Linked DNA regions of Homo sapiens: region 1 is linked to region 2. Evidence: promoter capture Hi-C in 16 types of primary human blood cells and fetal thymus (Javierre and others, 2016). All regions are on one chromosome and are shown on one strand. Each heading gives the region's core, a stretch centred on a gene start or on the middle of the fragment in contact. The rest is flanking DNA. Distances are from core to core; before and after follow the strand shown. Region 1 overlaps PSMG2 (proteasome assembly chaperone 2). Region 2 holds the start of CEP192 (centrosomal protein 192).

The links. Contacts are between HindIII fragments. The CHiCAGO score rates a contact against its expected background, and 5 or more counts as called.
Region 1: a contact is called between a fragment that was not itself captured here and the fragment with the promoter of CEP192 in region 2, in 4 of 17 cell types (neutrophils, activated CD4 T cells, naive CD8 T cells and 1 more). The highest score is 9.4, in neutrophils.

What each region holds. Positions count from the first base shown.
Region 1 is chr18:12,721,896-12,727,828 of GRCh38, reverse strand. PSMG2 (proteasome assembly chaperone 2) reads right to left here. Exons shown (of 7, transcript NM_020232.5): 6 at 3,210-3,330; 7 at 2,089-2,390. The coding sequence ends at 2,298. Among named protein-coding and RNA genes, the nearest start is that of PSMG2, 22 kb to the right of the region's middle. RefSeq lists an enhancer at 4,541-5,042. The HindIII fragment of the contact is 7,922 bases long and covers 1-5,262 here.
Region 2 is chr18:12,989,052-12,995,048 of GRCh38, reverse strand. It overlaps CEP192 (centrosomal protein 192), which reads right to left and starts at 3,687. Exons shown (of 45, transcript NM_032142.4): 1 at 3,612-3,687. RefSeq lists a silencer at 3,426-3,505 and enhancers at 3,986-4,365, 4,756-5,368. The HindIII fragment of the contact is 8,933 bases long and covers 1-5,997 here.

The DNA.
Region 1 (5,933 bases), core at 52-2,551, 260 kb after region 2:
TTTTTATGCTTTGTCTTGTCAATTCTGGACCAGAATTAAAAGTGCACTACCATTATAGTCCTGAAGGATTCTGCATTTGTCTATATTTAGTTTGCCAGTGAGCCTCATATTTTCTTTTTCTTTTTGGGACAGAGTCTCGCTCTGTTGCCCAGGTTGGAGTGCAGTGGCATGATCTTGGCTCACTGCAACCGCCGCCTTCTGGGTTTGAGCAATTCTCCTGCCTCAGCCTCCCGCATAGCTGGGATTACAAGTGTGTGCCACCATGTCTGGCTAATTTGTTTTTTTGTATTTTTAGTAGAGATGGGGTTTCACCATATTGGTCAGGCTGGTCGCGAACTCCTGACCTCAGGTGATCCTCCCACCTCAGCCTCCCAAAGTGCTGGGGTTATAGGTGTAAGGCACTACACTCGGCCACTCCCAATCTTTGCATACTGGCTTTGTACAGGGCAGACCTTCACCAGCTAGCCCAGGTAGAGATTCTGAAACCTCTTAAATGTTTTTCCAAGTTCAACTTTTTAGGATTGTGTTATTTCCCAACTGAAGGTTGCTGGTTTTTCATCTTGTAATCTCTTGCTCCCTCTGGTGTCTGTCTTCAGAATTGCACGTTCCCTAGTGCTGCAGCTGCAAGTCGCCCCTTTGTTCTCAGTGGCTCTCTGGCAAAGCATGACAGCTTCCTATAAGCACCCCAAGTTAGATGAGATGGGCAACAGTCCCTTGGGCAGCACTACAAAAAGCTGCAATGCTGGCGTGTAAGTTCCATTCCTCCTGGGAGAGAAAATGCAAGTTGGGTGATTTCTCTTGGTGGTGTCCAGCCACACTGGCCTGTCTGTGGTACTACAGGCTCTGGTGGCACGGCAAACGATCCTCCAACTCTCCCGTGCTTTTAGCAGACTCCAGACATCCAAAGGATGCCAGTTCTGTCAGTATTCCAAGTCAGACAAGACGAAAGAGTCAGAATCTTGGTCACATGCTCCAACGTTCTCTACCTCTCTCCCCCTCACCGAGTCTGCCCCCTTCAACCCAGGGAAAAGCCAGGAGCTGGCGTACTCGCCATCATGCTGGGCTGTCATCCTGGGTGGAGTAAAGTGAAATGACTCTTCTTACTCATTTCAACGTGGCTGTTCTTAATTTTGCACTCACCTGGGGATACTGCAACTTAACTGGTTTCTGGTATCCTGGTCTATAAATTAAACTGGTGTCTCTGTGGGGTAATGAGGACTGGTACTTCCTATTTTGCCATCTTGCTGATGTCAACCCCCATTTCATATTTTAACCAAAAGGGAAACAGAAATAGGCCACAGAATCCAGCATGATTTACATATCAAAAGGAAACCTTTCCGGAGTGCTGGGAAGTAGTTGTATCCTTAAATATTACAAGCCCTTGTGTTACAGATGAGAGAGCCAAGGCACAGAGGTAACACAGTGAAATCGTACATCCCAAAGACTAGGGGTGAACAGTGACTAGTATGCAGCAGGCACTCGAAAATGATAACTATTTTTATTATTTCTTTTATAGTAAAATTATTCTAAAATGGGGAAACTATCCTGGATTATTGGGGTGGGCCCAATGCAATCACAGGGTCCTTTTATAACTGAGAGATTTGAAGATGCTAAGCTGCTGGCTTTGAAGATAGAAGGGCCCATGAGCCAAATAATATGGCAGCCTCTAGAAGCTGGAAACAGCAGAACACAAATTCTCCCTAAGGCCTTCCTCAGGAGCAGTGCCCTGCGATCACCCTGATTTTAGTCTCGTCAGACCCACTGTTGGATTTCTGACTCCTAGAACTCAGAAGTCAGAATTTAAAAGCAAATTTGTGGCTGGGCATAGTGGTGTAATGCCTGTAATCTCAGCACTTTGGGAGGACATGGCAGGAGGATTGCCTGAGCCCAGGAGTTTGAGACCAGCCTGGGCAACATGGCAAGACCTCGTCTCATTTTACTTAAAATACAGAATGAAAATTAATTAATTAGTTAATGAAAAAATTAAACTGGTGTGTTTTAAGTCACTAAGTTTGTGGTGATTTATTAGAGACAAACTAGGAAGCTAATAGAGAGTCTGAAATTAAAAAAAATACATTTAAGACAAAATTACTTAGGAAATAAAATTTTATTGTACAAAATTTACATTTGGTGCATATGATGAAAAGCATGGCAAAGAGACCCTTAATCTTTTTTCTTTGATATTTACTGTGAAAGTAATTTCCTAATACCAGATCATACAATTTTTTTGTATAGAATGTTTAACAGCTGTGTTGGTAGTAAGTGTTTTGGGTATAAGGTATAAAACAGAAATTAGATCAGAAAAGTGCAGGGGGAAGACCACTGCCAAAGAGTAATCTCCAAGAACTTGGTATTTTCCACCGTGAGGCAGATACTGTGGGGTCATCGCTCTGTAATTGAAGAACAAAATATTTTAATCTTTAAACTTTACCATCAAATCTCCTTTTAAAGTGAATTATAAAACTCTCCTTTTGTGTTCCTTTTGGTTGGCACTTTTATAGCCAGGTTTTATTGTTAAGGAAAAATAAAGTTTCTTTGTCTTCATGTCAACTGAAGATAAATTTCTTTAAGTTCCAAATTATAAAGATATGCCAGAAAGGCTGTAGATGAAGTTTATTAGGGAAAATCACATTCAAAAAGAATAGGGATTAAAAAAAAAATCAGCATTATGTGATTTGTATCAATTTGTTCTTGGCAAAAGCATGAATTAAAAAGCTAGTTACCCATCTTAGAAAGCAGCCTTATGCTCAGTGTTCTGTTATGCCTAAAGGCTAACTCACTTCCCTGGGTGTAATGCTCTCATTTCATAATAGAGAAAAATATCAACTGTAATACATATTCAATAGCTACAGTATTGCTCACATAGCAATACTTTTTACTTCCCTAAAAAAATTCCTGAATTCCACAGAAGGCTTGTTTATTATTGCAAGACTATGTCTGGCATAATTAATCTAACATGAATAGTAAGTACAATGAAGAACTAAGGATTTTCCTTTTTGGAAAGTCAGCTTTAATGAAAAAACTGTAAATAATAGGTTGGTTAACTGTCCTCTAATTTTCAAAAGTTCAGCTTAAACTAAATTTTATGTAAAGATATGTCTATATTTAATACAAACGTTCACTTACTTGGTCTACTTAGGTAGTATATAAAGTGCGAGTTAATGAATACAACCAGACAAAGAAGAGGCTTAAGCTATAATAGAACTTACAAGTGGTTTGAGTATCTGAAGCCACTCATTAAGATACTCAACAAGACCTAATGCATCTGGGATGTTGTCCCCTTCTGAAACAAATTTCAGCAGAACTGCCATTTGGATTTCTTTAGAACAGCTACAAGAAATAAAAATAAGAATCAGTATTCTTTCATAGGGTACAAGAGCTGACTCTAGTGTGTCTGTTTTTACAGCTACGATAACCTACCTGGTTTAGGAAAGGAAAAGACGCCACACCATAAGATCACTTATCATCTCCCTTCGCCCCACACAGAGTTTTCTACTTGTGAGAGCAGGCCCCTGTAACACCCACTGGGGAACACGCACAATCATGCCTCACCCCATGGCTGCATGAAAAACCAGCCTTTCTGTCCTTGGCTACAGCAGATAAGGTATGTTCTGACCTACTCCCCAAACCTACTTCAGAAGACAGTAATTTTCAGAAGCACCACAGCAGAGACTGAAAGAAAATAACACCTAGTTACTATCTAAAGCAGTGAGGGAAACTGTGGAAGAGAATGGAATCATTAAAGGAAATAAAAGTTCCTACTTCTTCCGAAAACGCTGAGTGGTTATTATGTGTTAAGCATTATCTGCAAATTTTATGACAATCCCTGTAATAATCCTGAAGAAGCTATAATTAGCTCCATTTTATAAGTGAATCAGTTTGGAATAACGGGAACAAAGACAGACACCAGGATTCAGATTCTAGCTCTTCAACTTACCAGATATGTTGGGCAAGTTACTTAACCAGGGGTGTTCCTCATCTATAAAAGGGGGATGATAATGGAACCTACTTCACAGGTTGTTGTGAGGCTGAAAGGAGGTAGTGGAGGCAAAATGCTTAAAACAGTGACCACACAGTAAATATGAAAGAAGTATTAGCTACTTTTATGAGGTAACAGGTTTAAAGAGATTGAATACAGGCTGGGCGCGCTGGCTCAAGCCTGTAATCCCAGCACTTTGGGAGGCCGAGGTGGGCAAATCATTTGAGGTCAGGAGTTCGAGACCAGCCTGGCCAACATGGTGAAACCCCGTCTCTACTAAAAATATAAAAATTAGCTGGGCATGGTGGCATGTGCCTGTAGGTACTCAGGAGGCTGAGGCAGGAGAACTGCGTGAGACAGAGCAAGACTCTGTCGCAAATGAAGAAAAAAAGATTTAATACATAGTTAACATGCCCAAAGTTCTATATCTAGTAAGGTCTCTATATCTAACTATATCTAGTTAGGTCTCTCTAACTCCAAAACATAGTCTCCTATCATACTATAAACGCCTCAAGCTAGTGATGAGATGGAGATACACCAAGGCAAAAAGTTTCCTGCTTGCCAATAAATGCAAAAATTACTCCTAACACCCTAAAACCAAGAACTATGAGAAAAATGCCATGCCAAAACTTGAAAGCACGAGACTGACAGAGAAGAGAGCTACAGAAATAAAAGTGAGCCGAGTTCTAAGGAAGGAAAGGCACCGAGGAGACTCTGATATATACATTCGGAAGTCTCAGATGATACCAGGCTAACTTTAGTTTCTGTCTCTAAAAACTACAAAGTAGAAACTGTTAGCCTCACTCACCCTAGCCCAGTACTTGGTTCTCAAACACCTTAGGGGCTCTCAATCTTTGTATGGAACCACTATGAGCTCTGATGGCTCAGAAAATTCCAGTTCCTAAATGCGTCTGCTGTGATGGCCTCAGGCAAGGCTCTCGCCTGGAGAAGGCTGGCTCCGAGGCTGTGCTTGCATTTTCAAGGCTCTAACTTGGAAAGCGCAGGGGTATGCTCTTCAGCTTATCGCGCCTCTTATTAGTTTGTCACACAGTGTGGGATAATCATTTCAATATTACCCTCTGGTCTTCTGCTAAAAAGAAAGGCAGAGGATGACTATTATTATTACTTTTTTATTTGGAACTATTTTATTCTGGTTGATACAACTGAGTATTTTAAATATTGTTTCTTCAGGGTAAAATCCGCATTTCCTGAATGTTTGATGCTGAGTAGGTCTAACTTTTATAATACTTTCTGTTTATCACCGCTAACTTTGTGGGCAAGCTTATAGCTAACCAGAAGCTGTTCTTTGCCTGTCCTCATAGTTTCACCCTATACCCAAGAAGACAGACCCAAGGAAACAGACCCCTGGACTCTGATGAGCAGCACCCCTGCCCTCGGATTCTCTGCCCTGTATTTCCAGTTGCCTCGGCCTCCCTGTAGTCTTAACTGATTTCCTCCACTCAGCTCTGCTTGGGTTCCGCTCCCTGTGCTGCAGTCCAGAAAGTATCTCAAGCAGAAAGCCAGGCAACTGTAGACTTAAAATTTGCCTTCTCTTAGGGATGACAGCTATGTGCTGCCTGTAGTCCAATGTCTGGAAAACAGTTGTTTCATAAATTGTCAGGTTCCAGTATTTTTATGGCAGGAGGGCAAGTCTGATATCAGTTACTCTGTCTTGGTCAGAAGCAAAAGTTTAGGAGGATTGATTGGTAAAGTAAGTGCAACAAAGTATAGAAGAGGTGGAGTGCAGTGGGAGTGCAGACGCAACTTCCTTGTCTAGAAGACAGGAAAAGGCAAGATTGCAGACAGGAGGTGAAGGGTAAGTTGACTCTTAGAAAGGAGGTAGGTGTTTGCAAGGGGGACAAGAGAGGAACACGGAACAAAAACACAAGGGAAATGAGAAAATACTGAGATGAGTGAAAATGAAAACACGACATGTCAAATCCCAGGGCATGCA
Region 2 (5,997 bases), core at 2,438-4,937:
CCCATGTTAGGATGGAGGAGGCAGGAAACAACCTGCCCTGATTTTTCATTTGCATGTCCTGCCACCACCTTCTCACCTTCCCTTCATGGCCAGGCATCTCAGAAGAATACTCCATAATCCATACTTTCACAACTCATCTGACATCCTCTTCCTTTATTTGCTCCTCATATGTTAGGGTTACCCAGGATTCTGACCTCAGACTTTGCATCATGCAATTTACTTCTTACACACTAGGGATCTCAACTCAAATGTCTTCAGGAACAACTATTGTTAGAAAACAGAATTATAAGGACTGAGGTCAGCTGGAAATTACAGGCTTTACCTAAAACTAGTTAAATTCAATACACTGTTGTCAAACAAAACACATCTACTGGTGTAGTCCATTCCTGAGGGCAAAACATGTCTATGTTCCAAACACACCCTGAAATAGTCTATATCTTCCTATCTCCATTACTACCACCTTACCCTACTGAAAAGCCTCCTCACCCTTTTCCATGTTTTTATTCTTGCCACCCTACAATTAATTATCCAAGAAGCAAGCAAAAAGACCATTAACTATGAATCAAGTGCCATGCCTCTCCTGAAAACTCTATGAGGCCTGTCACTCTCTCCCACCCTCTCAGGCTCATTCACCACATACTAGATTTTCTATTCTTGTAATACCCCCAAAGCCCACCCCTACCACAGGTCTAGAATATTCTTCTCCCAGATCTTTGCCTAGCTAGCTCCTTCCTGACGTTCACCTCAATTTATATGTTACCTTCTAAGAGAAGTTTATCTCTTATTATTAAGTCAAACAGCGCCACAGTCAATCACATCCATTTAAATTTCTTCAGCATTTATCACTATTTATTCTTGTATTTATCTGTCTTCTTCCAATGAAATAATTTCTCCCTAAGAGCAGGGGCCTTGCCTATCTGTCCATCACTATTTCCTTAACACTTAGAACAATGCCTAGCACACAGCAGGTACTCAGTAAGTATCTGTGAAACGAATGAATGACAACATTCTCAGTCAGTGGGTAAACTCTACTTTAACTTTAACCCCTATAAATTTAGAAGAGCAGCTTCTTGGGGAAATGTCTATCTTGTTCATCCACATATTCCCAATACCTGACAGAGAACTGGAAATACAAATTGAAAAAACGAGTTTTAAGAAAGAATCTATAACCCCTAGTTTGCTGATACTGTGTCTATTATTAGGTAATGTGCTAATTATTTCACATACATTTTTCTAATCCCCATGTCAAATTTGTAAGGTAGCCATCATCCCTATTATTGAGGAAACTGAGGCTGAAAGAGAGAATTAAGAGACGTTTCCAGTCCACATAGCACAAATGAGGCCAGAGGATTCCCACCTAGGCAAGTCTGGCCCCAGGGTATTCTTTCCTCTGCACTAATTCCACCTCCTGGTGGTGCATGCCTTGGAGTCCCAGCTACTCAGGAGGCCACGGTGGAAGGACAGCATGAGCCCAAAAGTTTGAGGCTGCAGTGAGCTATGACCATGCATGTGAATAGCCACTGCAATCCAGCCTAGGCAACAAAGTGAGACCCTGTCTTAAATAAATATACAGGAGCATATGCATCAGTTATATGTAAATACTACACCAATCTATGTAAGGAACTTGAGCATCCAGAGGATTCTGGCATCCTGGGGCAAGGGCAGGTCCTGGAACCAATCCCATGGATAACCTGAGGGAACGACCATACTTCCAAATGGCTCTCTGACATCTACCTTACCCCCGAATGCAATACAAAATACAAAACCAAACTTGTTACCTTTCCTCCATTCATTCCCGCCGTTATCTTTAGTCTTCACCCAAATCCATCCCTATTAACTGGCAATACAAGCCTGACACCTAGGACCATCCTGATCCCTCCTGCTCTCTCACCAAATTCTAATGCTTCTAACGTCAAATACACTTCTGGAGCTGAGACCCACTTCTATATTCCTAATGCCCGTTGCCCATCACTTTTTATTCTGAACTATCACACGAGTCTCCCAACTAGCCTCCCCAAGTCTAGCCTTGTAATTACTAAGTTATTCATTCATATACAGACATGTAAACTATTAAAATTTATAGAAAACTCTTCAACAGTTGTCCCTATTTAGAAGGGCCTAATCCAAAGAAAACTCAGAAATTATGCAAAGGTCATTCATGCAACATTCATTATCAAACACAAACCATGAAGAACCCTCTACTTGGCACCAAGAATGCAAAGATAAATAAGGCAGCTCCCCTCAGGGAGCTGACAATCCCTGTCAACTACGATAGTGTTAAGTGCTTCAACAGAGCTTTGCTAAGGGTGCAAAGGTAACAAAACCCACGGGAAGATTCCTCAAGATGTAACCTAATACCTAGTCTCTTCTCCAGAAAAGATTACACTTGTAAACCATTCATGGACATAACACATTCCTAAAGGAAATTTCCTTTAATTTCTCACATTATTGCATTACCCACCCCTCCTCCATCATCTCAAGTGAAGACAATATTTTTCTTCTATCCTATTTGAACTGAGTGGCTATATTTGCAATTTCTCTTGCTATTTCCTTAAAGTAGTGACCTCAAATTTCACATCTGGACTCACTAATTACATTCCTAGGTACATAAAAGATTACTGACTATAGTCATTAATCGTAGGTCTATGTATACAATTAAACACATTTAAAAGCACACGCCGTGGAACCCAAAGCCGAGTCAAACTTCCCCAAAACTCATCATTTACTCTTGGCACTTTAAGATATACTTTAAAACTAGGTAGGCATTTGGTATATTATTGTTCAAGGCTTGCCGTTTTTGCCTAGAAAACTGAAATTTGGAGAAAAAGTTGATTTTGGAGCAGTAAAAACGCCAGTCGAATGACCTCAAAATAGTAAGAGCAAATGGAAATATGGTCATATAAACAGCTGTTCTCCAAACGACTGACTTGAAGAGGTCCTCATGTTTTACTAAACAAACTCTGAAAGTAACAGCAAAGTAAAAGTAGAGTGTATTAACATTCGTCTCATTTCACGTTCTGTTGATAATGAAATCATAGGCAAGGAATGTAGGTAAACTATTAGGAATAAATGAACGCAACCTAGCAGAAACCAAATCAAGTGAGTAAACGGAAGACAAGGGCATTAAGTTAAGTTAACAAGGTTACTTCCTGGGTCAGAATTTTAAACAAAAAGGAGGAACAGAACCGCCCATCACAGGGCACATAAAGGAAACATCACCGGTCACTTCACAAGCACACTGCAAGAAACTCCAGAGGGTAGCACGGAGAGGGCCTGTCCCTCAAGAGGTGGAAGTCCCCAGACAAGAGGGGAGGAAAGAAGGACGTGATCCCCTAACAGTCTGTCTCATCACGCCCGGCCAAAGCCCGATGACACAGAGGCGTGCAATTAATCCCAACCAGGCGGAGCTCAGCTCAGAGGCTGCGCCAGGCGCAGAGGCGCGGGAAGCGCGGCAGTCCCCTTGCTCGCGCCCTGAGGCCGCCCCACAGCCTGCGCCCCCACCCGGCCCAACCGTCACTGTCCCGTCGGTCCGGCAGCCGAAACGTAGGCCAAAGGTGCATGCGTCTGCCTCCCGCCTAGGCGCAGGCCGAGGCACCAGCGTCCCCCCTCACCGAGCCCGCGTCCCCGACTTCGGAGGGCAGTGTGCAGCGGGAAAGTCCACGGACTGAAGAGGTGTCCCAGGGCACTGCAAGTGCGCGTGCGCGTGGCCCCCGCACCGGCTGGAGCCCGGAACGGCCGTACCGCGCCCGCCTCTGGTTTACGTCTGTTCGCGGCACCAGGCAAGGGGAGGAGACTGAGCTGGCTTTTGATTGGACAGCGGGAAGACATGGGGCGGGAAGAAGCCCGGTGATTGGTGGGGACAGCGCGTTCCTGGATTTGAAGCGAGGAAGCCGCGCGCCCTGCGAGTCCGGAGGAGGAAATGGAGCTCTGCGCTGCGTGGGACCCGGGGGACGGCTCCCGTTGGCGCCGCCTTCAAGGTCTTGGCGAATTTGAAAATAATGCTTACTTTATTCAGTTTGGGTCTCCAGGGCACCGCCAGTCACTCTATGCGCAAAGAAGTATCCCCCGCCAACAAATCCCCCCCGATAGGTTTCGTCCTTCCGTGGGCAGATGCAGACCTTTCCTGTTGGTAGGCGCTGAAAGGCGTCAGGTTTCACCTTCAATCAGCTAATTCCTCGGGATCCAAGTTTCATGACATTTCGCCACATCTAGTCGCCTCTTTGTGACAGAGTAGGCTTTGTCTCGATTGCTTCCTACTTTTCTCCATCCTTCTTAGGCCACAAAACCCATCACCGCCATCTGCTCGGCACAGGCCCTTAACTACTTCACTGAGACCATGCCTTTCACTCAAAATGTATCTCAGTCTTTTTCAGTAAGGTCCCTTATCTCAAAATTTATTCCATATAGTCACAGAGGGAAAAGAGTCCCTCTTTTCCAAAGCTAACTCCTTAACTTCGTTCAAGTTACTGAAAGATGTCCGGCGCACCTTGGAGGAAAGAAGAGGGAAAACGCAAAGTTTAGAAGTCCCTAGACCTGAGGTTACTTGGTGGGGAAAGACGTCTGTTTACTTGACCACTTTCTACCTCCTGCAAACATGGCTCACCTGTCATTCTTGGATATCCTCTCCACTGGTTTCCTTCTCTCTGCCTACAAAAATGCAGCACCTCTCTACCCAAACACACACACCACACACCCATACACCACACACACCACTCACACCACAAACCACACACACCCACATATGCACCACACACACGTGTGTGACACGTATACACACATCCATACACAACACACACCCACATACACATCACCCACACACCACACACACCCTCCACACACAAACACCACTCAAACCACACACCCACACACACCCCTTCCTTGATTCTGTTTCATCACCTAATGACCATTCTTGTTTCCTTCCCTTAATGGTCTCCACTTTTTTTTCCATAGAGGAAGCCAGGCTTCCACTTTTTACACCTTATTTTGACGCATTTCATGGTGTCTAGCTGGGTCCTTAAAACTTTATCAGGAATAGACTCCTAATTGTCAAACTCAGTGATATCTCCACAGTTCGACACCTCTTCTTGGAACCCTGCAGCCTTGGTATTTGCAAAGAGTAATTACCTTTATTCTACCTTTGTCCACACTCAGTGAGCAAAGATAAATGCAGAAAATCTCAAGATTTTCTGAATCCCAAAAAAGTAAGCCAAATGCTCAGCCCTAGAGCTGACCTCTCTTAACCTCTTTTTCTACAAAGCGGTCACACATTGGAGGTGAACTGCTTAAATGTGTCTACAGGTTCCGGACTGTCACTCACACCAGATCCTTGTTAATAAATGTCCTTCCTCCATAAATATCCTCAAGTCACCACAGCACTCCCCACAACACTCAGTAACCTGATAGGACTCTATTAACAGAGATCTCTGATTCAGAGTCTCGGCAGCAGGAGAGCCTGGACTCTGACGCCAGGCTGCCTGGATCTGAATCCTGGCTCTACCTCCCTCTTCCAAACTGTGTAGCCTTGGGCAAGTAGCTTTAACCAGCCGGTTTCCTTGTCTGTAAAGTGGGGATAATTAAAGCGCTTGCCTCAGAGGCTTACTGTGAGGATTTAAAGCTACTTCTGTAAGGTATCTAGAAAAATAATGGCCCATGGAAATACTCAACAAACATTAGCTATTATCTTATACCTCAGTATCTCACCTCACTTGCCAACTGGAAAGGAGGAACAGAACTCCCACTGTGATTTCCAAATCTCTTTAGACACTGAGTAGAGCCTGCAGAGGCCCCATGACCAGGGTGCCTCCCAGGGAATTAGAAGTGAGGCCTATCCAGTTTTAAGTTCAGACATCTCTCAGCTCCCCTTTTACCAACTGCTTAAAGTGGTATGCCTCAGCCAATACTCAAAACCTTCTACAATGTAACCACAAGGTATGATTTCAGGTTAATGTCCCAGTAGTTCCCTAAATGAACCCTACTCTTTCATCAGACTGTTACTTA